Linked DNA regions of Homo sapiens: region 1 is linked to region 2. Evidence: promoter capture Hi-C in 16 types of primary human blood cells and fetal thymus (Javierre and others, 2016). All regions are on one chromosome and are shown on one strand. Each heading gives the region's core, a stretch centred on a gene start or on the middle of the fragment in contact. The rest is flanking DNA. Distances are from core to core; before and after follow the strand shown. Region 1 overlaps RPS6KB1 (ribosomal protein S6 kinase B1). Region 2 holds the start of HEATR6 (HEAT repeat containing 6).

What was found. The method cuts DNA at HindIII sites, captures the fragments that hold promoters and counts their contacts. A CHiCAGO score of 5 or more calls a contact.
Region 1: a fragment that was not itself captured here is called in contact with the fragment with the promoter of HEATR6 in region 2 in 1 of 17 cell types (M1 macrophages); the score reaches 5.6 in M1 macrophages.

Annotation. Positions count from the first base shown.
Region 1 is chr17:59,917,038-59,919,737 of GRCh38, forward strand. All of the region lies in intron 4 of RPS6KB1 (ribosomal protein S6 kinase B1), which reads left to right. Among named protein-coding and RNA genes, the nearest start is that of RPS6KB1, 25 kb to the left of the region's middle. The HindIII fragment of the contact is 1,413 bases long and covers 723-2,135 here.
Region 2 is chr17:60,077,492-60,080,201 of GRCh38, forward strand. It overlaps HEATR6 (HEAT repeat containing 6), which reads right to left and starts at 1,430. Exons shown (of 20, transcript NM_022070.5): 1 at 1,205-1,430. The coding sequence starts at 1,423. It overlaps HEATR6-DT (HEATR6 divergent transcript), which reads left to right and starts at 1,818. Exons shown (of 2, transcript NR_135648.1): 1 at 1,818-1,981. RefSeq lists a silencer at 1,087-1,216. The HindIII fragment of the contact is 13,067 bases long and covers 1-2,710 here.

The sequences.
Region 1 (2,700 bases), core at 179-2,678, 160 kb before region 2:
GTGGAAATATTTAAGATTTTCTCTTTATTTCTGATCTAAGTTTTTATAGTGATGTGTGTTGCTTTGACTTTGATTATTATTTTTATTTAGTTAGTTTTTGAGATAGGGTCTCGCCCTGTCACCTAGACAGGAGTGCGGTGACACAATTATAGCTCAGTGCAACCTCAAATTCCTGGGCTCAAGCTATCCTCCCACCTCAGTCTCCTGAGTAGCTGGGACCACAGACACGCACCACCAGGCCTGGCTAATAAAAAAAAATGTAGAGATGGGCACTCACCATGTTGCCCAGGCTGGTGTTGAACTCCTGGGCTCAAGTGATCCACCCGCCTCGGCCACCCAAAGTGCTGGGATTGGATTACAGGTATGGCCCACTGCGCCCGGCCTATTTAATTAAATTAATTAATTTATTTATTTTTAAGAGACAGGGTCTCACTCTGTTTCCCAGGCTGGAGTGTGGTGGTGTGATCATACTTCACTGTAACCTGTAACTCCTGGGCTCAAGCGATCCTCCTGCCACAACTTCTGAGTAGCTAGGACTGCAGATGCATGCCACCACGCCCAGTTCATTTTTAAAATGTTTCGTAGAGACAAGGTCTTCCTGTGTTTCCCCGGCTGGCCTGGAACTCCTGGCCTCAAGCAGTTGTTCTGTTTTGGCTCCCAAAGTGTTGGGATTACAGGCATGTGCCACTGTGCCCAGCCTATTTTTATTCTTTTAATCTTAAAGCTTTAGTCTTTCAGTTCTAGGAAATTTTCTTATGTGATTTATTTGGTAATTTCCTTCCCACTGTTTTCTCTTCTTGGAATTGCAATTAGTTGGATGTTGGATCTCCTGGACCGATCATCTAATTTTTCTTATCTTTTCCACGTTTCCATTTCTTTGTCTTGTTTACTTTCTTCTACTCAATTTTTTTTTGAGATGGAGTTTTGCTCTTGTTGCCCAGGCTGGAGTGCAATGGCGCAATCTTGGCTCACCGCAACCTCCGCCTCCTGGGTTCAAGCGATTCCCCTGCCTCAGCCTCCCGAGTAGCTGGGATTACAGGCATGTGCCACCATGCCCGGCTAATTTTGTATTTTTAGAAGAGACAGGGTTCCTCCATGTTGGTCAGGCTGGTTTCGAACTCCTGACTTAGGTGATCCGCCCGCCTTGGCCTCCTGAAGTGCTGGGATTACAGGCGTAAGCCACTGTGCCCAGCCATTTGACTAAATTTTTTTTTAAAGCTGTTGTATTTGTGATTCTCCAGAATTCTTTCTGTTGTTTTTGTTTTATAGCAACCTGTTTAATGAGTATAATATCTTCTCTTACCCCTCTGAGAGTTTTATTTTTTTTTAATGTTTATTATTATTTTTTTGAGACAAGAGTCTCACTCTGTCGTGCAGGTTTGAGTGCAGTGGTGCGATCTTGGCTCACTGCAACCCCTGCCTCCTGCGTTCAAGCGATTCTCCTGCCTCAGCCTCCTGAGTAGCTGGGATTACAGGTGCCCGCTACCACACCTGGCTAATTTTTGTATTTTTAGCAGATATCGGGTTTCATCATGTTGGCCAGACTGGTCTTGAACTCCTGACCTCAGGCAAAACGTCCACCTCGGCATCCCAAAGTGCTGGGATTACAGGTGTGAGCCACCACGCCCAGCCTCTCTGAGAGTTTAATTATAATTATTTGAAATGTTCTTTTGTTTTACGCATGTTCTTTTTTGACTTTCTGTTTTCTTTGACTTTGATTTAGTCAGTTTTAGTCACTTTGTTCCATGTTAGAGGCCTTCTTTAGATGTCTGGTGTCATTCACTGATTATTCTTTTTTTTTTTTTTTTTTTTGAGTTGGAGTCTTGCTCTGTCGTCTAGGCTGGAGTGCAGTGGCACAGTCTCGGCTCACTGCAATTTCCACCTCCTGGGTTCAAGCGATTCTTGTGCCTCAGCCACCCAAGTAGCTGGGATAACAGGCATGTGCCACCCTGCCTGGCTAATTTTTGCATTTTTAGTAGTGACAGGGTTTCGCCATGTTGTCAGCCTGATCTCGAACTCCTGACCTCAAGTGATCTGTCCACCTAGGCCTCAATAACCCATCCACTGCGCCTGGCCTGATTATTCATATTTAAGAGTAGAACTCTGAAAAGCTGATCAGAAGTTCTGTGTGTGTAAGCTTCTCTGCAGGGTAGTCAAGTGGTTAGCTGGCACTTGATCAACAACTTCAAATAATAGTGTCTGTAGGGCTGGGTGTGGTGGCTCACGCCTGTAATCCCAGCACTTTCGGAGGCTGAGGCAGGTTGATCACCTGAGGTCAGGAGTTCAAAACCAGCCTGGCCAGCTGGTTTGGGGGCGCTGAGGCAGGAGAATCGCTTGAGCCTGGGAGGTGGAGGTTGCAGTGAGCCAAGATTGCACCATTGTGCTCTAGCTTGGACAACAAGAGCGAGACTCCATCTCAAATAAATAAATAAGTAAATATTGTCTGTAGATCTTTTTTTTTCTGGGGAGGATCAGTTGGTGCTAAGAAAGTTCTGCCATTCATTTGCCTGGAAAAAGCATTCTGGAGCTGAGTGAGAGAAGATGGAGATCTTACCTCTCAACACGCGGACTTTCACTAAACTCGAGTTTTTACATTAGTACTTTACTCTGTGGATCTAATCTTTCACTTTTTTTTTTTGTCCCGGGGAATTTAACTCTCCTAGGGTTAGTTCTTCGACTTAGTATGGAGATGGGAGCCTT
Region 2 (2,710 bases), core at 180-2,679:
GCTTCCTAATGACATACACTATTATTCTGTAGTCAATTCTTTCAGACCTTTTACTTTGCATATATAAACACACATATTTTAAAATCCCTCCTCCAGCTTCATACTGATCTCATTCTGTATGAATTGTCCTGCAACTTGCTTCAACCATTTACCAATACGTATTGAAGACTTTTCCAAAGCAGATTTTAAAGTTTATGAACAATTTTTTTTCCTCCTAAAGAAAAGATCATTCTGGCATTGGAGGAATGACTGGCTTGGAGAGGAGCTAGACAGGAGGCAGGAGATCAGTCAGAGGGGATCAGCGAACAGTCCAGGCATAAGTCGCCTTGCCTGAGGTCTAAGGCACTCGCTATGGGAATAGACAGGAGGGGATGAACTGAGAAATATATATGAGACACATTCTGAAATACCTGAGTTGGTCAGGATCTGGGATGAAGGAGGGAAGAACCAGTGTTTGTGTCTGGTGTGACTTGGTGGATGATGCATGTGTGTTGGAAGGTGGGATGGACTGGGGACGGGAATGCGTGTTTGGAGCTAATGAATTTCATCTTTAGGAACTGTCTAGTTTGAGATGCCTGTGCAAGCAGGCAACTTGCACCACTTCCCTCTTTCCTACGTAGGGCCAGAAGGCCATGGTGTCAACAGTTCAGAGAATTCATTAATTTAAGGCCTGATGTGTGTAAGATTACTCAGAAAGACGGCAGAGGGGAGGAGCTAGTGTGTAGGAACAGAAAACATAGGGGCTTTGTGGCAGAGTTTTGTATACTGTATTTTTACGAGCTTCAGTATTTTCATTAGCAAACAAGCCCTAATACTACGCAAGTTCTAAGATTCCCACGTGGTCCGTGTACCATGTACGCAATAAACAGTAGTAATGCATTTTGTCAACCAAGTGTTCTGGGTGCACAGAGAGGGAGTGAAGGAGGGTGCGGGCGGATGGAAAGTTGGTATCAGAGAGGAAACCCGAGGCATTATCAGAGCAGGAGTCGTCAAGTTGGGTTTTGAATGACTCGAGCGTGCCAAGCACTGCAGGGTCTTCCAAATGGAGAACTAAGAATGTGCCAAGGTTGGAGGGGGCACGCCATCCTGAAACTAAATCATCAGGCGCGAGAGTGGGAAGATCAGGGAAAGGCAGGCAGAGGCCACCAGCTGGGTTCCCGGAGGGGTGGGGCCGGGGCCGGGGCCAGCAGGGCGCGCCGCCTACCTCCGGGGCCACGCCACTGCCCTCGCTGTAGTTCTCGGAGATGAGCTGATCGAAGAGCAGGTGGATCTCGGTGCGGGCGGAGCTGCTGTCATCCGGGCGCAGGGCGCAGAGCCTGGCAGACAAGAGGCGAAACCCATTGCCTCGCTCAGGGATTGCTTCCCGCGGTGCCTCCCGCGGCTGCACGGAAGGCCACGAACCGACAACTTGCACAGCAGCCATCTTTTCTACGGGCGGGGGGGGTGGGTGGGGTGATCCCAGGGAAATACTTCCGGGACATCCTCCCGTTCCGCGCGCTCTAGTTCCGAAAGTACCTTTTTTAGACCGGACTGGGGCTCAGAGGGGTTTCCATGACTACGGGACTCCTCCGACCGGTACCCTGCAGATGCTTGTCAGAAATTGGCTTGGAGGCCGGGCTCGGTGGCTGACGCCTGTAATCCCAGCACTTTGGGAGGCCGAGGCGGGCGGATCACGAGGTCAGAAGATCGAGACCATCCTAGCTAACACGGTGAAACCCCGTCTCTACTAAAAATACAAAAAAAAAAAAAAAAAAAAAATTAGCCGGGAGTGGTGGCGGGCGCCTGTTGTCCCAGCTACTCGGGAGGCTGAGGCAGGAGAATGGCGTGAACCCGGGAGGCAGGGCTTGCAATGAGCCAAGATCGCGCCACTGCACTCCAGCCTGGGCGACAGAGCGAGACTCCGTCTCAGAAAAAAAAAAAAAGAAAGAAATTGGCTTGGAGATTTTTCGCCGGCCACTCCTTCTTGAGCCCTGACTGAAAAGTGAGTTCTCAATTTGTGCTTCCAGAAAGTTTGTCCTCCCAGAGTTTGTTCCTGGACAGGGCTGAAGGTACTCTGTTCCGTACTAGAGTTTCAGATTCGGGCTGGAGTTGGAGAGGGTATGCTGTGGATGGCAGTAGCAGAAACCGCTAGTTCTAAGGCACCCTTCTACTCTTCTAAAATCTTTCCCCAGGCACAAAACCACCCGGAATAAAGGCTACGTTCCCTAGCATTCCTTGCAGTTGGCTGTGGCTCTGTGATTGCAATCTGGTCAGTGGAATATAAGGCAGCTTTCCCTACTTAAGTGACAGCTGGCTGTACTCTTGGTTCCTTTTTCTCCCTTTTTCCCAGTGTGAATCCTCTCATGGATCATGAGGCACCTCGCCCCACTAGAAGAGTAATTTTGGAGTTTAACTGAATCATGTAAAATATAATCTGCCTAAGAGTGACCGGGTTGAAATGAGACACCCCAAGATTTTCTGAAACCTTGAAGTCAAGAAGCTGGAGAATAAAATGGCCATTTAAAAATCTGTGATCACTTTTCAGTCATCCAGGAAGTGAAGGCTTGACTTTCACAGTTGGGCAGATTGGGAAAACCATCTCTAGGGCCTTTGAGTTATGCAAATATAAAGCAAATCCTCACCCTTGGCCCTTAGGGAAAACCTTGAAGTCACCTGAATGTATGTTTTATCCTGAGAACAAAACATTTCTGTTCAGCAGTGAAAATTGGGG